3 separate regions of the Homo sapiens genome follow, and regions 1 and 3 are each linked to region 2. The links are contacts of gene promoters, found by promoter capture Hi-C in human tissues and cell types (Jung and others, 2019). All regions are on one chromosome and are shown on one strand. Each heading gives the region's core, a stretch centred on a gene start or on the middle of the fragment in contact. The rest is flanking DNA. Distances are from core to core; before and after follow the strand shown. Region 1 has its middle 54 kb from the start of RBM24. Region 2 holds the start of RBM24 (RNA binding motif protein 24). Region 3 has its middle 42 kb from the start of RBM24.

Region 1 (2,955 bases), core at 393-2,892, 55 kb after region 2:
TGGGATTACAGGCATGAGCCACTGTGCCTGGCCTATTTATGTTTTTATTGCATTTTTAAAATAGAGGCAAAAAATTGTGTAAGCTTTAGTTCCCCATACAATCAGGATCTTCTTCTGGCAAAGACAAGACATATTTATTATCTCAAAAAATTATCCCAACACACATAATAATTTCCATTAACTGAGTGCTGCTATGGGTCTGATATTATTCTAGGTACTTTATATAATTATCTTATTTAATCCTTACAACTACCCTAGGGGCCGGGCATGGTAGCTCACGCCTGTAATCCCAGCACTTTGGGATGCCGAGGCAGGCAGATCACGTGAGGTCGGGAATTTGAGACCAGCCTGACAAACGTGGAGAAACCCCATTTCTATTAAAAATACAAAATTAGCTGGGTGTGGTGGCACATGCCTGTAATCCCAGGTACTTGGGGGGCTGAGGCGGGAGAATCACTTGAATCTGGGAGGCGGAGGTTGCAGTGAGCCGAGATTACACCATTGCATTCCAGCCTGGGCAACAAGAGCAAAACTCTGTCTCAAAAAACAAAACAGAACAAAACAAAACAGAACAAACAAAACAAAACAAAACAAAACAGGAGTACCCTAGGAGCTGATATGGTTCTCATTTCAATGAGTTATAAAAAATGTAAAAATTTACAAGAAAGTGATGTAATTTACAGGAGGCCACACAGTTCAAAGTAGTTCTGTCTCTTTCTGCAACCTGTGCTCCTCCCAGCATGCTTTGCGTCTATTATCATGTATGTTGTGTATTTTAGCACTGAACTACATTTTTTTTCTTGTGTAGCCTGCCTGCTGCTTTATATTTGTGCTCCTGGATTCTAGCTATAGTATAAGTTCCCTTGAAGATAAAGAATGGAACCCAGGTTTCTTCCATATCACCGTCAACACGTGGCAGAGAGCTGAACTTGCGATGGAATCTCTTTAATTCTTGACAATCAACATTGATTAGAAGTCACATCTGTCTAGAAAATAACCCCAAGAAAACTACAGAAATCACCTCAAAAATAAATGAAAAAAGCTGTTGTTTTCCTGCCTCCATACCATGCTCCCACTTGACACTGATGGAGGAAGTCACCGATTTTCAGTTAAAAATGCGATAGGAGTGAAAATGCAGTTAGAAGCTACAGGTAGGCTTTGGGTTTCTGTTCTGAGCCATCGCTGCTGGCGAATACATGTGTGAAATGCTAGTTACCATAGCAACCAGTGCTGCAAGATTTTTTTTTTCACTTTGGTTTATGAATCCAAATCAATAAATGTTTATAAATAACTCTCCAATTGGCTAAAAGAAGTAGAAGCACAAGCCAGAACAATCCTTCTGTCCTGTGAATGTGAGTCATACATATGTTGGCCACATTCTGGGGACAGAAAAAGGCTATCAATGGAATAAACAATTGGCCACATCATTTTCTTTGCAAGAGCAATTAGGAAAAACCCTGCTGAGTGAAAATCTATTTCACATGCTTACTGACAACAAAGAATACAAAGTATGCTCACCCAAGGGGCATCAAGAGAAGACTGCAGAAATCACTGACTTCAGTAATACAGATACTAGGTCTGAAAGAGAACATTGATGTAATTGCACCTAAGTGATGATACTGAAGTTCAAATGGAGTAGGTAGAGACATTATTCTGCATTTGTGGATTTACATGTTCTCTAGGATATGCAAGCAGAATTCATACAAACGTAGAATTTGCTCTGAAGAGTCCCAACAAAAATCAAATCAGGCCACCAACCAGGGTAAGGATTCTTTCTATAGCATTCCAAACAGATGGTCAAACAGCCTCTCTCAGGATATTTTTAGTGAAAGGGAAAGTCATTTTTCTCCAATCTCTATCTAGTAGCTGTTAGATTTATTTCCTGAGCCAAAATCTCCTCCCACTCTCATCCTTTAACTCGTATCCATTGGTCTTAGTTTGTTCTTTGGCACAACAAAGAACTAATCCATGTGGTTCCTCCTCTTGGTGACAGCCTTTCCAACCTTTGCAAGCAGCCACCAAGTGCTTCTTTAGTCTTCTCTTACTCTTGGTTTAGTTTTCACCTCTCCCCTCTCAGGATGCCCTTGACTTGTCAGCATTCTTCTCTAAATGTGGATGCCCCGAATAATCTGTACAAATCCCCAGATGTGAGTTAAGATTTCAGAGCACAGTGAAACAACTTCCTGTGCTTTTTCTATCTATGGATTTGGCTAAGTTTATGTTCAAATTTTCTTTTCTTTCCCCATGCCACACCCCTTTTTTTTTTATAGCCACACCACACCATTAGCACATAGTAAACTTCTGGTAGGCTAAAACACACAGGGCACCCCATCCCAGAATAGGAACAAATTATGTAAATATTTCTCCCAGGAAGAACCCAACTGGGACAGGGATTCCCTGGCAAGCCACTACCCTGACAAGCAAAAATGAACAGCTGTTCTGATCATTTTGGCAAACATTTTTGCTGGCTGACATAAAATGGAGAAGGAGTAATTGTCCACAAGCTGTGGTTTGAAGGGTCATAGAGAAGTGTACCACCCCAAAATGTGTCACTCATCCAAATGCCAAAATAGCTGGAATTTTACGATTTGGAAAGGTTAGCAAATCCTGGCTATTTTTTCCCCAAAAGGACATATTAAATCACTAACAATTTAGTGTGAATAGGATGACCACATTTCTTTCTTCCAGGCAAAGAAAACTTGGGACAGTAAGAAAACACTAACTTTCTGGATTTGAAGAGAAGGGAGAGGAGTTAAAATCAGGGGAAAACTTTTGAAAGAAGTAGTAGGATAGCCCAAAGCTTTACCTGTTTGCTCTGCTTCATTGTTAATGCTGTCTATGGCCAGGGCAAAAGTCACAAACTCAAATGGACACCAGTGAAAGAAATAGGAGGGTAGAAGAAAAACTACAGCGATGATATAATAAATGGACCCAGGACAATGGGGGAGTGCTGGG
Region 2 (2,906 bases), core at 106-2,605:
GATAAAACTGAGATCAAACTTTTTTTCTATTCTTTGCTTCTTTTGGCTGGACCCTCCTCCTTGATCTCCCATTTTTAACAGGCGGGCGGGGGCGTGGGGGGGGGGGGCGGGTAGACGAAGGAAAAAAGAAAGAAACCCTCTAACCCTGCCTCCCCCCACCCCACCGCCGAAATCTTAAGGGTGTTAGTAGGGCCTAGCCGAGATTTGGAAGCCTAAATTCTTGGAACTCTAGATCCTCCTTCCCCCGAATCCCCCGCCCCCCAGGTCCCTACTCAGCCTCAGAGGCACCGTTTGCTTTAAAGAAAGTCCAGCCTTACATCCGCCCAACGCTCCCAACCTCGAAAACACTCCCCAACGACAATAGCTATTGTCCTACTCTGGGGCTCCCTGCTCTTCGGCAGCTGAATTTGCACGCTTAAATCTCTAGGAAGGAAGCTTAATATGCTCTGTTTCAGTTCGGCAAAGAGCCCTAGGATCATGATTTAAAAGAACCTACCTTTGCAGTTAAAAGGCGGGGGGATGACACAAGGGCAACAGCCCCAGACCTCGTGGGGTGTCCCCTCCCTGCCCCAGCCAAAACACCAGAACACACGCATTTTTACAAAGCAACAGCGCGCTTAACAACCGGCATCCAGCCCGGGAATGCAATTGTTCAGGGTTGCGGCCCCTCCCTCGCAACCCTCCGCACCCCAAATCCCGCCGTCATTACAGGTCTCTCCTTTCACCCCTGCTCTGCCCTGCCCGGCCCCCGACCTCGCACAGCGCTGGGTCTTCTCCGAACCCCGCGAGGCTGGCGCCGACCCTCTCCCCTAGCAAAGTTTCAGTTCACCCCGGAGCGAAGGGGCAGCGCCGCTCTACCCGCGGGGCTCCTCACGGGTCACGCCGAGCCCCTCACTCCAAGCTCCCGATCCCCGGGGTCAGCCGCCACTCCGTCCCTCCCCGTCACCCCCAGTCCGTGCAACTTACAAATCCATAGCCCCGGGACTTGCCCGTCTGCCGGTCGGTGATGACCACCGCCTCCTCGATCTCGCCGAAGACCTCGAAGTACTTGCGCAGGCTGGCGTCGGTGGTGTGGTAGGGCAGCCCCCCGACGAAGATCTTGGTGTACGTCGTGTCCTTCTGGGTCGTGTGCATCTTCGCACCCGCCCCGCGGCTCGGGCTCCGGCTGCGGCTGCGGCTCGGGCAGCGGCTGCGCCTCCTCCTCCGGCTCCGCGTCTCCCGCACCCTTTCGCGGCCGCCGGGGGCCAAGGGCGAGCCCGGGGGCGAGGGCGGCGGCGCGGCGGGGGCGAGCGGCCGGGGGCGGCCGAGAGCGCCGGGCGCGCGGCTTCCGAAGTCGCCAGCGGCCCTGGAGACTTGACTTCGCTCTCTCCTCCCGCCCCCCCTGCCGGTCACCGTACAAATTCTCCGGATCGTCTGGATTAGAATCGGGTTCTATAGAATGTGCAAGCGGTTTCCACTCACCCGGCGGGGAGGCCAAAAATGAAAAGAGAGGGTAGTTCTCAAGCGAAGAAGCGGGTGCTTTAGAGGTAGATTTTTCTTCCTTAGGAATCAGGTGCCTTGGGTGGGGTGTGGGGAGGGTCCGCGGGAAGAGCGTCCGAGCGCCGAAGCGGGCGGGGGGCGCGGCGGCGGGGCCAGGGGCGAGGAACTCCGCGCAGCTTCGGCTCTGGTCTGTCCCTCCCGCCGTGGGATCTGGAAGACGAGTGCCGAGGACAGCTCTCCACCTCTCTGCTCCCTTCCCCCGCGGGCCGGGGGTCGACGCCCGGCTGGGGAGGGGGGCGGGCCGGACGCCTGCGATTGGCCGCGGCAGCACCTGGGGCGCCGGGCGCCGCCGCCCCCCAGCTGTTGGGAACAGCTGCTTCTCTCCCCGCGCGGCGCGGCGCTGGGGCTCGGGGCTCCCGCTCTGTAGCCGGCGATGGGGTAGGGCTGGAGACGCCTGTAGGCGGCCTGGCTCTCGGCGTCGCCTGCTCTAACCAGTCAAAGTCTTAGGGACCCGGCGCAGCACCAGCCGGGACCCAGGGTGCGGGGACTGTGCCCAAGGAGGAAGCTGCGTTGCTTTCCAGAGGGGACGACGCGAGCTTTTTGGGTTAGGCCTCGGTGACAGGGCCGGCGACCTGGACTGGCGAACTGGGGTCCCCAGAGGCCTGGGGCGATTCGCTGAGAGGCCAATCCCCTCCCGGGCGCGGGGGGTCAAGGAGCTCGGCCGAACGAAACCCAAGCTGGACACCCTGGGGTCTGAAGAGTGAGAAGGAGGGCCCCAACTTTCTTTGGCCCCAAAAAGCCAGTGCGGGGAAGTATCAGAGAGGTAGAGCCAGAAGGAAAAGAAAGATCTAGCGCTTGGGTGTAGTTGGGAAAACCATTAGCTTTAATTGCTACCGCCCAGCCAAACCAAGTAACCGGAGATACCTATGTCCATCAGGCACCGCCTTCTATTTCAGAGGACCATAAGTTAGTATTTTAGCCCCCACAGTCACCAAATTTGTCTTTCCTCCCTAACTTAGTTATTCAGGAAGATTGGTACAGATGTCTTAGCATAAGTCGTTCTTTTTTTTTTTTTTTCCCTAAACAAAGAATTAATCTATTTCTTTCTCTTTGAATTACAAGAATGTTTAGTGGCTTGACCTCATCTGTTTTTATCTGGATGTAAATGTAAAAGGTATAATTTTTGAAATCAACTTATTGCATAACCAGTGGTTTCTACCAGCAGACCTGAAAGCATTTGTAGAACATAGGGCACCCCATATATATTTATTACTTTACATCAGCTTTTTGCAACTTCTTTTAATTGAGAATTCATTCAATTAGGCCTTAAAATCAATCAGTCATACTTGAGGTTTGGATGAAAATATTTGATGTGAGCAGAAGGTTTCATCCACCATTGTTGGTGCACAATTGCCTTTTAAGTCCTT
Region 3 (2,700 bases), core at 83-2,582, 42 kb before region 2:
CTGGCCCCATCTGCCATCACTGCATCAGAGCCAAGGGTAACTCTGCTAGTAGCAGGTAACTCTGCTAGTAGCAGGTAAAAGCCAGTCTCCTTTTTAATCGATACTGGGGTCACCTACTTGGCTTTGCCTGAATTTTCAGGACCCACTCATCCCTCCCAGGTCTCTGTCGTGGGGGTTGATGGATTCATCTCACATCCACACACCACTGAGTCCCTTACTTGTTTCTAGTTTAATACTGTTTTTACACACTCCTTCCTTACCATGCCTGGTTGTCCCACCCCCATTCTAGGCCAAGACCTTTTAACTAAATTCAAAGCTTCCATCACTTTTTCCTGCCTCTCTCAACCAGAGTCCCTTCTGCTCCTCTCCACTAGTCCAGCCCCTGACCCTTCTCCCTAGTACCTGCTTCCCTCCTCCCTCGTTAACCCAGTGGTGTAGGATACCACCACCCCTTCCGAAGCTGCACACCATAACCCCATCAAAATCCTGTTAAAGGATCCCTTCAAATTTCCTAACATTCCCCAATACCCCGTCTCCCTAACCCACCAAAAGGGCCTCCAACCTGTTATAAACAAGCTCTACTCATGTGGTCTTCTTAGACCAACACATTCTCCATATAACACCCCCATCCTTCCCGTTAGAAAATCTGACGGCTCATACCGACTCGTTCAGGACCTCTGAGCCATCATTCAGGCTGTCCTCCCTATTTACCCTGTGGTCCCTAACCCCTATACACTTCTCACCCTCATCCCCTCCAACACCACCCACTATACAGCAATCGACCTAAAGGATGCTTTCTTACACCATTCCCTTACACCATTCCCTTACACTCTGATTCCCAAGACCTCTTCGCCTTCACCTGGACTGATTCTGACACTTTTCAGTCACAACAACTCACATGGACTGTCCTCCCTCAAGGCTTCAGAGACAGCCCTCACTTCTTTGGACAAGCTCTAGCCCAAGACCTCACCTCCTTAAACTGTTCCCCCAGCCACCTTCTCTAATACATTGACGATCTCCTTCTTTGCAGCCCCTCCCTAGAGGACTCTCAAACTCACACCATCACCCTTCTAAACTTTCTTGCTAGCAAAGAATATAGGGTCTCCCCCTCCAAAGCCCAACTATCCGCCCCAACAGTAACATACTTAGGAGGCCAACTCTCCCCCTGGTGCCCAAGCCATGACGCCGGCCTGAGCAACCTTAATAAACACCTTGCCTCCGTCTTCCTCAAAAAATGAAATTCTCTCTTTCTTAGGACTAGCAGGTTTCTTTAGAATATGGATTCCCAACTTTGCTCTCCTGGCTCGGCCCCTCTACGAAGCAGCCAAAGGCCCCCTCAGTGAACCCCTAAGCCCCTCACACAACATACTTCCCGGTTTCTGTAAACTCCAAACTGCTCTCGTCACTGCACCTGCCCTGTCCTTACCTGACATCTTCCAACCCTTCGTTTTTTATACCACCGAAAACCAAGGAATAGCTCTCAGGGTCTTAGGGCAACAAAAGGGAAATCCTCCTTCCTTTGCCCCTGTGGCATACCTCTCTAAACAATTAAACAACACTGTCAGAGCGTGGCCAACCTGTCTTAGAGCATTAGCAGCAGCGGCCGTTTTGGCTCTGGAAAGTAACATTTGGCCAAAGCACCACCGTCCACAGCCCTCACAACTTACAGGATCTCCTCTCCTCTCAGGCGTTAAGCTCCCTCTCTCCTTCCCGAATTCAGTTACTGCATGCCCTCTTTATCGAAAATCCCAAATTCAGCCTTGCCAAAAGCACCCCCCTCAACCCAGCATCCCTACTCCCCATATCCTCTTCCCCTCCTACTCATTCTTGCACTGACATTCTGGATCACCTGCAGCCACACTTCCCTAACATCTCCTTCGAGCCTCTCACTAACCCAGATGGCCACTATTCATAGATGGCTCCTCTTCTGGAGCCCCCGGCTCTCCCAAAATTGCTGGGTACGTAGTAGTTACCTTAAACCATGTAATTGAGGCTAAACCCTACCCCCAGGAACCTCCTCCCAGAATGCAGAACTCATAGCTCTCACCAGAGCCCTAACCCTCTCCAAAGACAAACGGGTCAACACATACACAGACTCCAAGTATGCCTATCACATTCTTCATTCCCATGCTACCATCTGGCAAGAGAGGATTCCTTATCACCAAAAGAACCCCCATTACTAATGGCCCCCTTACTTAACAACTCTTTCAGGCCACACACCTCCCAACTGAAGCAGGAGTCATACGCTGTTGAGAACATCAAACAGGATCAGATAAAATCTCAAGAGGAAATAAAAAGGCCGATGAGGCAGGAAAACGGCCTCCCTTTCTCCTCTCCTTGCCCCCATCGTCCTTGTCACCCCAGCAGTCCCACCCAGATACCCTCCCACCAAAAAGGCTTTGCTACTACAGCAAGGAACCTCCCTTCAAGGGGACTGGATAATAAAAGATCAAAAGCTCATTCTTCCCCAAGAGCAAACCAAGGAAATTCTAACACCTCTTCACCAATCCTTCCATATTGATGCACGCCGGCAGTACCTACTCCTTCGCCCTTGTTTCTCGTCCCCCAATCTATTCGCCTCACTAAAGGACATAACCTCAAACTGTCGTATATGCTCGTTACTTCCTCCCAAGGGGCTCTTTGCCCTCTCCTCATCCCTACACGCCAGCTCAGAGGAACACTCCCAGGGAGCACTGGCAA

The links. Contacts are between HindIII fragments. The study calls those that stand out against the background at their distance.
Region 1: a fragment that was not itself captured here is called in contact with the fragment with the promoter of RBM24 in region 2 in 2 of the 25 tissues and cell types used here (dorsolateral prefrontal cortex and liver).
Region 3: a contact is called between a fragment that was not itself captured here and the fragment with the promoter of RBM24 in region 2, in 1 of the 25 tissues and cell types used here (pancreas).

What each region holds. Positions count from the first base shown.
Region 1 is chr6:17,225,404-17,228,358 of GRCh38, reverse strand. No RefSeq gene overlaps it. Among named protein-coding and RNA genes, the nearest start is that of RBM24, 54 kb to the left of the region's middle. The HindIII fragment of the contact is 4,463 bases long and covers 1-2,955 here.
Region 2 is chr6:17,279,810-17,282,715 of GRCh38, reverse strand. RBM24 (RNA binding motif protein 24) reads right to left here and starts at 1,355. Exons shown (of 4, transcript NM_001143942.2): 1 at 967-1,355. The coding sequence starts at 1,134. The HindIII fragment of the contact is 10,579 bases long and covers 1-2,906 here.
Region 3 is chr6:17,322,257-17,324,956 of GRCh38, reverse strand. No RefSeq gene overlaps it. Among named protein-coding and RNA genes, the nearest start is that of RBM24, 42 kb to the right of the region's middle. The HindIII fragment of the contact is 9,108 bases long and covers 1-2,700 here.